Regions from separate parts of the Homo sapiens genome. Here region 1 is linked to region 2. Evidence: promoter capture Hi-C in human tissues and cell types (Jung and others, 2019). All regions are on one chromosome and are shown on one strand. The core of a region is centred on a gene start or on the middle of the fragment in contact, and the rest is flanking DNA. Distances in the headings are between cores, read along the strand shown.

Evidence for each region. Contacts are between HindIII fragments. The study calls those that stand out against the background at their distance.
Region 1: a contact is called between a fragment that was not itself captured here and the fragment with the promoter of BAIAP3 in region 2, in 1 of the 25 tissues and cell types used here (dorsolateral prefrontal cortex).

What each region holds. Positions count from the first base shown.
Region 1 is chr16:1,631,001-1,636,921 of GRCh38, forward strand. It overlaps CRAMP1 (cramped chromatin regulator 1), which reads left to right. Exons shown (of 21, transcript NM_020825.4): 4 at 1,212-1,365. Among named protein-coding and RNA genes, the nearest start is that of CRAMP1, 22 kb to the left of the region's middle. The HindIII fragment of the contact is 4,859 bases long and covers 1,767-5,921 here.
Region 2 is chr16:1,329,222-1,335,022 of GRCh38, forward strand. BAIAP3 (BAI1 associated protein 3) reads left to right here and starts at 4,424. Exons shown (of 34, transcript NM_001199097.2): 1 at 4,424-4,528. It also overlaps the pseudogene RPS20P2. RefSeq lists an enhancer at 2,552-2,601 and silencers at 3,378-3,578, 4,314-4,473. The HindIII fragment of the contact is 17,320 bases long and covers 1-5,783 here.

The DNA of each region.
Region 1 (5,921 bases), core at 2,946-5,445, 300 kb after region 2:
TGGCTTGGCTTTGAGGCTGTGTAAATACCGTGTTTCTCATCATTCTTTGCTCCCACTGATTTCAGCAGCCATCGCTGCCTTTTCCCTGAAGCAGTTGTTACTGTGCTGTTTGCTCCCAGTGAGGACCTTCTGTTTCCTTTATTCTTTCTGTGTTTGCTGATTGGAAGTCCTGTGCCAAGAAGAGCCCTGCGTTCTCCCCCACACGTGCAGTTATTCTGTTACCTACACCCATGTAGACTCACAGATGTTGGCTTTATTCTGGGGGTCATGGTCCACCATGCCATTGTCGGCTTTCTCGCCCCGTTGGTTCCCCATTTGGCCACTGGGGAGCCTCATGCTGGCTCCTGCATCCTCTTCTCACGTCCCCATCGCCTGCCAGTGTATTCTCGTGTGCTGGTGCCGTCAGGCATTCCAGACTCAGTGGCTGCTTGCTGCTCTGCAGTTGGCTGTTTTTCCTGGGAGCCCAGCTTCCCTTTGCAAAGTGGTATTTAGAAACCAAGACCTGGGCGCTAAGGATGCTGGTTACTGCTGAGCCCTTCCAGTACTTAGGAGCTTGGCTTTGATGAGATGATCGAACACTAGGTTCTCTATGGCAGTGCCTGAAGCAGCACTGAGGTGAGGCTGTTCTGTGGAACACAAGTTCTCTTCTGAAAATCTAAGTCACACTCAGCTTTTGCAAAGAAGCGTTCCAAGAAGGGTTGGCCTCCACGTATAATCAGAGTATAGTCTGTGCGGTTCACTTACTAAATGCTCACGTTTGCTGTCCTCGTTTGAATATGGAATATATTTTGTCAGATTAAAGCAGTGAGGATGTTTCTGATCTGTTCTTTAAGATGCCATAACTGCTTCTCTTCCAGAGCTTTTCTTCATGGAGGTGTCTCATTTCATTATCTGTGAAGAACTCTAGCAATTAAGGCATTTGTCCAAGTGATGAGCTTTATGTTTCTCCTGTCTGGGGTGCTTGCCTCTTTGGTATCCATGTGCTCTGATGGTTCTGTTCCTGGTTCCATTGCTCCTTTATCCTGATTAAAACCTAAGGTTCCAGGGAGTCGAAGTTCAAGTTCATACACAGATAAGAGCTTGGAAGGGCTGCTTGTTTGACTACAGCCTGTCTCCTTTCTCCTTTCTCGGAACCTTGGAAAGGGTCCAGTTAACACAGAAAGCTGCATTGTTTTAACCCCTCTACATTTATCATGGAATTTATTTTCCAGCATGGGAAAGACTTTGAAGCGATTCAGAACAACATTGCGCTGAAGTACAAGAAGAAAGGCAAGCCAGCAAGCATGGTGAAGAACAAGGAGCAGGTCCGCCACTTCTACTACCGCACCTGGCACAAGATCACCAAGTACATCGACTTTGATCATGGTGAGTGTGCCACGGGCCAGGCTCGGGGGTGCCCACAGGCAGGGCCGGCTTCTGCTCAGAGCGCAGCTTCCAGCAAGCCCGCCGGACCTGCTTTCTGGCATTTTCTCACCAGCCGCTTGGCCTGGGGCTCCTCGCCTTGCAGCGCTTTGGCTGATTGTGTGCTGTCTAACTCGGTCAAACCAAGTTGCCAGGAAGTGGCCCGTATCCCATGCTCCAGGGTTCTTACCACTGCTTTTCTGAGCTATGGTTTGTGTGTTTCCAGTGGCTCTGAGTGTGCGTGAGTTCTGGGTCCCTGGCTCACCTGAAGCCTGTGGTCTCCACTGCAAATGATAGCACCATGGTCCAGCGAGGGGCTTGGGCCGCAGGCACCGTGCCTGGCGCTGGTCTTCCTGGGGGACGGCCAGCCTTCCCAGGCCTCTCGCCCTCTACACTGGGACCCAGGTCTGCGTCGGCCCTCGTTCAGTCACGGGACCAAGTCATCCCCAGGTAGAATTCTGGCTTCTGGCTCAGAGCACCCTTTGGCTACTGGTGGCTTCTCCGGATGATGCTTTGTCCATCACCATCTCTGTCCTTGGGAGTCTTAGCTGCCTCCTGCCTCCGCCTATGAGAACTACCTCTCCAGCAGCGCACCTGTGCTGGGCCCTGCTCTTCATTCCTGTAGCTTCACACACAGCTTGGTCCTTCCAGATGTACCCCCAGAGCACCCCTCTGCCTTCTGAGCCTTCTTTCAGATGTCTCACATTCTGACCCAGGGTACCTGGACTGTGGCCACACTGCCACTCTTTGTGCCCTTGCCTGTGCCTCGTGGTGACCTAAAGTCCTTCGCCTTGGCCATTCCTGTGGTGTCCTCTGGGTGGGTTATGGCATCTTGACCATGGTGCATCAGCTTTGCCCGGAGCTTTGGGAAGAGCCAGGACCCAGCTCCCCTGTGTGACTGGGCAGAGCCCTGAGGGCCGCAGACACCCCCTGCCCACCACGCAGCTAGCTTCTCCACTGAAGAACCTCCACTGGGAGATTGTCACCGTTTCTGGAGATCCATGGAAACGGCTGTTGGTCTCTGCACATTAGGGGTACCCCTTGATTCGGGTCTGCCGCCGATGCGGTTTTGTTTGTTTGCTTTTGGTATCCACGTGACCATTCATGTAAGATTTTCTGCTGACTTCACCTATTTATAGCACATCAGTTCCGTTTTGTCCTATATTTGATGCCTGTGCTGGTCTTCTCATGTTCAGCTCACTTGTTTATTTGAAATCTCAGCACTGGTCAGATCCCGTCATCCAAGGCTGTTGTGGTTAATGTCAGGTTGTGGTGAGTGGCCTTGTGCCTTCCAGAGTGGCACGCAGCACCGACTTTTCATTGTCGGCCTCTTCCTGTGTCGTCTGTCCTTTGCATCGTTCATTAGTGCCTTTTTGAAAGACAGTCCAGGCTGCGCGCGGTGGCTCATGCCTGTAATCAGCACTTTGGGAGGCAGAGGCGGGCGGATCACGAGGTCAAGAGATCAAGACCATCCTGGCCAACATGGTGAAACCGCATCTCTACTAAAAATACAAAAATTAGCTGGGCATGGTGGTGCACACCTGTACTCCCAGCTACTCGGGAGGCTGAGGCAGGAGAATTGCACCACTGCACTCCAGCTTGGCCACAGAGCAAGACTCCGTCTCAAAAAAAAAAAAAGAAAGAAAGTCAGTCCATGAGAGCAGATCTGCCATCCACTGTGGCTGGTCTTGAAAAGCTCTCTATGGGGGAAGCTGGCCAGCAGCGGAGGGGACTGGGCAGCTGTTTAGTAGATGAGGTATAGAGAGAGGGATGGGATTCCAGGAGCTTCGGTCTAGTGTGCTTTGCTTGAACCATCTGCGGGCAGGGTGGGAAGCGTCTTTGGACCCTCAGGCTCCTGGCGTAGACTTATCTCCTCTTCTGAGGTTCAAATGCACATTCTACTTGCCAACCCAGGCTCTCTCCCATGTCAATTTCAGAAGGCAGTCAAAGCAAACATTTCTTTTCTAATTGTGTCACCTTTCCCTGTTAAACAACCTCCTAATCCTAAACTTGCTGGTGCGAGGAGGCCTCATTCCTCTTTGGCCCTTCTGTCCATCTAGGGTGAAGGGTAAATGCTCCCTCACACCTCTCGGTGGGGGGTCACACCCAACACAGGTCCTTTTCCCTTCTCCGTGTGGGCCCCTGTGCTTCCCTCTCTTCCTGACCTGGCACAGCAGGCTCCTACAGCCTTGGTGTCTCCTGTTCGTGCATCTTTGGTGTGACCCCACATGATGTGCCTTCTTCCTGTTGAGCTCACCGTTCTCCCGTGTTCTCCCGGGTTCTCTGATGGCCCTGACTGTCTCTTCAGCAGGGCTGTCTGCCTCCGTGCCAGCGGGCAGCGGCATTGGGGCACCCGATGCTGACTTGCCCAACAGGAGCATGAGGCTGGAGGCCACTAGGACACTGCGAAGTGACTGGCCCCATGGACTGTCATTGCGCATCAAACAGAGTGGCAACTTTTTCACGTTACATGTATTTTTGGCGTGCTTTGGAGTTTTGTTTTGTTTTGTTTTTTGAGCCAGAGTCTTGCTCTGTTGCCCAGGCTAGAGTGCCATGGCGCACTCTCAGCTCACTGTAACCTCCATCTCCCAGTTTCAAGCGATTCTCATGCCTCAGCCTCCCGAGTAGCTGGGATTACAGGTGTGCACCACCACACCCAGCTAATTTTATATTTTTTAGGAGAGATGAGGTTTCACTATGTTGCCAAGCTGGTCTTGAACTCCTGAGCTCAGGAAATCCACCTGCCTCGGCCTCCCAAAGTGCAAGGATTACAGGCGTGAGCCACCACGCCTGGCCTGTGCTTTGGAGTTTTGAAGAGCACACCGTGTGCACTTTATCATGGGTTTGTCTGACTCATCTTGTGGCGTGAGACACAGAGTGGTGGCAAGCGAGCGTGGAAGGGACTGACTCCGCCCCCAGCTTGGGGGCCTTGCGTGTGTGTTCGTCTTACTAATCTCCCGTGGTTTCCATGCACATCTGCGTTTCCTTGCTGCTGTCCATTGCTCAGTGGAGATTTTGCTTCACGAACTCAAAGTTGGATGAGGTGAGCTTGGTTCCTGTCCCTGAGTGTGTAATAAAACATGAGGTGCCACCTAGGAGGCCGTGGGGCCAGGCGGGGCATCAGGGACACCTCCCGGAAGCCCTGCTTCGTCCCAGGGTCCCACCTCCCCTGGGGTCCCTTGTCTGCAGTGTCTTGCTCTTGGTGCTACTTTCTTGTTTCTGGGTTGTGGGTTTTTTTCTTTTTGCCATTTCAAATAGTGGACTTTAAAATATATATTTTAGAAATGGGGATATTATTCACCCTTTTAAAGCATACAACTTAGTGGTTCTTAATGTACTTACAAGGTTATGCAGCCATTGCCACTCTCTAGTTGCAGAATATGTCCATTGCCCAGGAGGAAACCCTGTGCCCCGGTGCTGGGAGCCCTCAGTTTACTACCTCCTGTCTCTATGGATCGTTCTACTCTGGATGTTTCATAGAAATGGGATCACGTGCTATGTGTCCTTCTGTGCCTGGTTTCCTTCACTCAGCGTCAGGTTTCAGGGTTTGTCTGTGTTGTAGCGTGTGCCAGTCCTTTGTATGGCTGGATTATTTTCCTTTGGGTGGATGGCCACATTTTGCTTGTCTACTGAATAGTGGATCTTAAAGCTTTCCGAGTCATGGGCTCCTTTAAGAAAGTCTGATGAGGCCAGGCGTGGTGGCTCACGCCTGTAATCCCAACATTTTGGGAGGCCGAGGTGGGCGGATCACCTGAGGTCAAGAGTTTGAGACCAGCCTGACTAACGTGGTGAAACCCCGTCTCTACTAAAAATACAAACATTAGCAGGGCGTGGTGGCGCATGCCTGTAATCCCAGCTACTTGGGAGGCTGAGGCAGGAGAATCCCTTGAACCTGGGAGGCGGAGGTTGCAGTGAGCTGAGATCGCGTCACCGCACTCCAGCCTGGGCAACAAGAGCGAAACTCTGTCTCAAAAAAAAAAAAAGAAAGAAAGAAAAAAAGAAAGTCTGATGAGCCCTTAGGTCTTAGGTCTTTCTCTCAGAAGAGCCTTTGAGAGCAGTTGGCCTGTGCTTAGCCGTGTCCGAGACCCATGGTCCAGAATCCTCCTCATATCTTGAAAGCCTGCTTCTCCATTTACCAGTCTTAGGGCCTTGAGAACAGGTCTCTGAGGAGAGAACTAGAGAGGACAATTGTGAGAGTAGAGGGGACAAATGGCCTTCACCCCTGCTCTGTGAAGTGACCCAAAGGGGCCTGGACTGTGTTGTCACTTGGTTTCCCTAGCAGGATTAGGTCTGGTGTAATACAGTAACAAAATGCAAAATAGCAGTGGCCCAAGCGCCTCAGAATTCACTGTCTCGTGGCAGAGACGCCTAGAGGCTGGCGCCCAGGGCAGGCAGGACCCAGGTGCCTCCCATTCTTGTGCTTGGCTGTCCTTGGTGACAGCTCCAGGCAGTGGCTCTTGAGGAAAGAGGGGTGGGAAAAGGGGAACCCTCCTGCCCAAATCAGGCTCTTTAAGGAGGCT
Region 2 (5,801 bases), core at 3,174-5,673:
AGCATAAAATCACTTGAAAAGGTGTGTGCTGACTTGATCAGAGGCACAAAGGAAAAGAATCTCAAAGTGAAAGGACCGGTTTGAATCCTACCAACACTTTGAGAATCACTACAAGAAAAACTCCAGATGAGGCCAGGTTACAGCTCACGCCGGTAATCCCAGCACTTTGGGAGGCCGAGGCGGGCAGATCACGAGGTCAGGAGATTGAGACCATCCTGGCTAACAGTGAAACCCCATCTCGACTAAAAATACAAACAAATTAGCTGGGCATGGTGGCAGGTGCCTGTAGTCCCAGCTACTTGGGAGGCTGAAGCAGGAGAATGGCGTGAACCTGGGAGGCAGAGCTTGCAGTGAGCCAATACCGCGCCACTGCAGTCCAGTCTGGGCGACGGAGCAAGACTCCATCTCAAAAAAAAACTTATAAAAAAAAAAACTCCAGATGAGCATCCATAAGCAACTCATTGACTTGCACAGTCCTTCTGAGATTGTTAAGCAGATTACTTCCATCAGTATTGAGCCAGGAGTTGAAGTGGAAGTCACCATTGCAGATGCTTAAGTCAACTATTTTAATAAATTGATTACCAGTTGAAAAAAAAAAACAAAAAAATACAAAAATCAGCTGGGCATGGTGGCGGGCGCCTGTAGTCCCAGCTACTCGGGAGGCTGAGGCAGGAGAATCACTTGAACCCAGGAGGCAGAGGTTACAGCCGAAATCACACCACTGCTCTCCAGCCTGGGCAACAGGGCAAGACTCCATCTCAAAAAAAAAAAAGAAAAGGAGGGACTCTGAAGCCCCCAGAGCTGGGAGGAGTCGCCTCCCAACCCCAGCTCTGCACAGAAGGATGCACACTGAGGGCCTGGCCTCTCCCTGCTGGGCCCCTAACCACAGTGAGCACAGAAGCCCATCTCGCTGGGAAGGGGCCTCTGACACCCCCACCCTCAGGCTGGTGGGAGGCGGGGCCAGGGGACAGGGTGCCATCCTCCCTGCCATCCAAGCCTCACCGCAGCAGGGGCTGTCCTGCCTGCAGGGCTCTGGCACACCAATGGCCTTTGTTTGGGGGCTTGGTAGGACCCTGTCTTGGGCCCACTTCTTTGTCCCTGCCCTGCCCTGGACCCCTCACAGATGCTGCTACTAGCACGGAGGCCTGAGAGAACTCCAGCGTGACACTGGGTGGTCACCTCCAGCCGGCCCCACCTGTGCACGCGTGGCAGCAGGACTCCCGGAGCTTCTGGTGTGGGATCTGGAGACCAGCATCTCAGGCATGAGGCCAGACTTGGGCTGAGGCCCTCCCACCCAGAGCCCCTCTCTTGATGGGGCAAGGAACAGGTTCTGGCAGTCTTCAGGGTCCTCCAGCTCCGGGGCAGGCAGGGTCCCTGGCCAGAGTCCCTGGGCTCTGACCCCACGAGCTCTCCAAGGACCCTGCCCTTCCTTGCTTGGGTCCTCAGAGGGAAGTTGGGGGCAGATTCTGGGAGGCTGTGCCTGCAATTTCTAGGGCTGCCACCAGAGGGTGGTAGCACTGGGCCCTGCGCTGTGCTCATGAGCGTGGAACAGGAGGGGCTGTCTAACTCTGCCATGGCCTCACCTGTGTGCTTCAGCGGCTTTGGCGCCTGCGTATCCAGAGCCTGGTGTTTTTACCTGCCCCCCCATCTCCGCCCCCCGCCACCGGCCCGGCCCTAAGGAGGAAAAGCTACTCTCCCTGCCTGCCAGACCCTTTCCAGCACAAAGTCCTGAGAATGTGAAAAGAGCCAGGCTTGAAAAATGGCTTTTCTCAGCTTTGCACAAGCAGCCCTGGTGCCCCAGCAGCCTCCTCAAGCTCTGACCCCGTCTGGGCAGGGGGTCTCGTGTCCCGACACATCGGTGGGAGGTGTTCCTGCACCTGCGCCATCCCCTCACTGTCCCCGGAGCACGGCAGCTGTCTGCACTCCGGTCCGAAGGCAGAGACGCCAGGGTAGCCCCTTCAGAGTGAGGCCTGGGGCTCAGGGTGGGGAGGGTGGGCGGCCCACTCTCCTGCCCTCTCTCTTAGTGGGAGGGGACTCACGCGAGGATGGGCTTCCAGCCCCAAGCTATGGAAAGGTAAATTGGGTCACTGGAGGGGCCGGAGTTCTGGCTGGGTGGCTGCAGTTCCCATCCCCACCAACTGGGACTGAGGCTGACCTGCTGTGAGTTGAGACTGGCTCACTGAGGTCCCCCAGCTGCACCCAAGGTGGGTGCTGCTGTTGTCCCCATTTTACAGAAGAGGGAAACTGAGGCCCGGGCAGTGGAGGGTCGCCCTGGGGCAGGGGTGAGCAGGGTGCTGGGACTTTGATCCAGGTCAGCCTGTCTTCAGCCTCAGAACAAGTTGGAGAATGAAGGCCTTGGTCACTGAGTGGGGTGTCGCTCGGATCGTTCATTCCTCGACTCCTCACCAAATGTTTGTGGAGGGGACAGTCCTAGTGACCGTCCTCTCCTGGGGAAACGGAGGCCCAGGGCTGGTTTGGGACTCAACCTATCACTATGTGGCCCTGGAAAAGCCCTTTCCCGTCTCCGGACTCCAGTCTCCCTACCTAGAAAAGAGTGGGGAGAGGTCTCCAAGGGTGCTCCCGCACCCAACGGACTGCAGTGTTGGTTTCAGGGTTGGTGCTCTCGTAGGGGCCGGAGCAGCGGCTGCCCCTCCCAACTTCCTGTTTACCGTAGCTGCAGAGCCTGTCCCTTCACTTAAAGCCAGTGTGATCACCATGGCAACCGGCCTGTGTTTGTTCCAACAGGTGGGCAGAACCTGGTGCAAGACCGCAGAGGCAGGGGCGTCACTCCCAGACCCGGTCTCCAGACCCACCAGCCCCTCAGGAGAACACTGCTACAGAGTGGGGCTGAGGGCCCAGGCCCCCTCCCCTGCTTCCCCCACCGCGTCCCTGTCCCAGCCAGTCCCTGCATTTCCTGCAAGCTCCCTGCCCTCCCCCACCGGCCTGGCTGTGCTGGGTCAGGATCCGGCAGAGCCTGGGCCGAGCGTCCCGAAGGAGAGCCCACCCAGGGGTCCTGCCCCCGATCCTGCACAGACAGGTGTGGGGCGGGCATGGATTTGAGTGAGTTGGGATCCAGAAGCCAAGACAGTTGTTGGCAGACGGGCCCCCTCCCTTTGAAGAGCTGTGTTCTGGAAGCCTGTCTGGCCTTGGGCTGCCCAGGTGCCCTTCGGGTGAAAACTCCAAAGTCTGACCACCCCCCACCCCTTGTCCCCAAAGGGCTGCGAGTGTCCAGCTGTATTCGACCAAGGGCAGGTGCGACCGGGGGGCCGCTGCGCCCTCGGCAAGTCTGAGAGCCTCAGGCCCCCGACAGGACCATGCTTAGCACGGACTTCTCAAAGTGTGGTCCCTGGACTGGCGGCAGCAGACTGGAGCTGGGAAGTGCAGGCGCTGGCTGGCGTGGGGACCACACCTGTGATCTCAGCGCCTTAGGAGGCCGGGGAAGGGGGATCCCTTGAGCCTGGGAGTTTGAGACCAGCCTGGGCAACATAGGGAGACCCCCATCTCCACAAAAGAAACCAAAAAACATTAGCCGGCGGGTGGTCCCAGCTACTGGGGAGGCTGAAGCGGGAGGACCACTTGAGCCGGAGAGTTCGAGGTTGCAGCGAGTGGAGATGGTGCCACTGCGCTCCAACCTGGTTGAGAGCTATTTTTGAGAGCTTTTTCGAGACTCTGTCTGAAAAAAAAAGGGAAAAAACGCAGATCGCGCCCCCACCCAGACTTCGGGACCAGCGGGTTGGGGACAGGACCCATCAATGCCTTAACAAACCCTGCAGGAGACCGCGGGCCCGCTGGGGTTCCAGGACAGCGCAGCGGAGGAAGAGCGGGGAGCCACCCGGGAGGGGCTGGCGGGGTCCAGTGCAGACCCCAGGGGCTCCGGGGGCTCTGGCCGGCTGTGACCCCACAAGCGCCAACTGGGCCCTCACCAGAGCCCCAGGGACGATCGCCCCACAGACCGTCCGCGTGGGCGTGGGGCGTCCCGAGTGGATCCCTGCAGGACGCATCCCCGCCCCGAGAAGAGAGCGGCGGGGCCCGCGAGGTGTCCCTGAGTCAGGCCCTTCCAGAAAGGTCTGCACCGCTGCTGGTCTTCGTGACCGTGGCTTCCCTGGGGTCCGCGGAGGAGACCCCGCCGACCACCCCCTTCTAGACCCCACGCGCCACGGGGAGGGCGCGCGCGGCCAGGCGGGGTCCCGAGGCAGCCAAGCCCGCTCCCCGTCCCGCAGCCACCTGTGGGTTGACTCACAGCCCCGCATCCCGGGGGAGGGGGCTCCGGCCCGGCTCAAGGCACGGAGACCCCGGCCGGGTCCCCTAAGGCGCCGTGGACGCGGGGGGCGGGGCGAGCGCGGTCAGGCCCCGCCCCGGTCAGGCCCGGCCCCGCCCCCAGTCAGACCCCGCCCCCGCAGCGGCGTCCGCCCAGCAGTTGCTCAGTCGTCGGCGCGCGCGGCTGGGAGCGGTAGCTGTGCCTCGGCGTCCCCGAGCTGGTGCCGAGCGCAGCGCCCCAGGAGCCCCCCCATCCCCGCGCCGGCCCACGGTAAGTGCCGCGGGCTGCGGCCAGTGCTGTTGGGCCGCCGTCTGGGCTCGGCCCCGCGCCCCAACCCGGACGGACCGACGGCCGCCGCCCCCTTGGTCCGGGTCCCCCAGGAGGCACGGGGGTGGCCTCCGAGGCGGGGGGCGGTGGGAAGGTCTCGACGTCCCCTCGGCCCTGGGGAAACTGAGGCCGCGCATGCTTGGAGGGGCGGGGTCTCGGGGGCATTTCCCCTCCGAACGCGCAGGAGAGGGTGCGGCGGTGGGGTCCGCACTGCGGAGCGGACGGGGAGGGTATCCGGGCGCTGGCGACGGCCTCCCCCGCACTTGAGCCGCCAAGCGAGGCTTCGACCCCCGCGCCTCCCTCCCCGGGGGAGCAGACGGGCCCGGGGCCTCCCAGCACCCCTCCCGGGCGGGCTGCACCCCCCAGCGTCCTCGTCCCTTCCCTCCTCCCGCAGGTCCTCGTAAGGCCCTTTAGTCCCCCCGAAATCCCTGCGAGTGCAAAGCGGCCCCTCCTTCAGCCCCACTCGGCAAAGGGCTGTGGGCTCTTGCCTGGGCCGGGGTCTCCGGGGGAGGAGTTTAAAGTGACACACTAGACCCGCCCCCAGACTCACCCCGGACCGCCCGCCCCCTCCGAGGGGAGAGACCCCCATAGAACTGGGGGTGTGGCTCCTGCGGGCGCCCGGGGCCCCGGGAAAGGGGGTGCCGCGAGGCGGGGCAGGGAGGGGGTCGGTGAGCAGAGGGAGGAGGGAGCGCTGCGCAGACACGGGCGAGGGGAGGAAGAAGGCGCCTCGGGCTCCGGTCTCCTGCGCTCCTGCTGGGCGCCAGCGGCTGGACCTTGGCAGCCGTCTGAGGCTTCGGGGAGCCCAAGGCCACCGGCAGCGCTTGTTAGAATGCAGATTCCCGGGGTTCGACTGGAATGAGACCCCGGGGAGCAGCGTTTGCAGCGGGCCCGCCAGGTGACCTGCACCTGGGCACCGCCATCGGCTTCGCAGGGGCCATCTGGAGGAGTCGGTGAGACCAGGGAGAGATTCCTGCGGGAAACCCCCAGGGCCTGGTGAAGGGGAGTCGGGGGGCTGAGGGAGGAAGAGCAGGGAAGCTGGAGAGAAGACCAAGAGGGCAGCGTGGAGAGCCAGCCTGTGGGGCAGATGTCCTGCCACCTCCCGCCCCAGGCACACACCCAGGGCACCATCAGCTAACCCCCTGCCCCAAATGTGGTAAGAAGGGCGCCCCCAACACGTTGAAGGCGTTTGTTCCTAGACAGCCTGCACTGGGGAGGA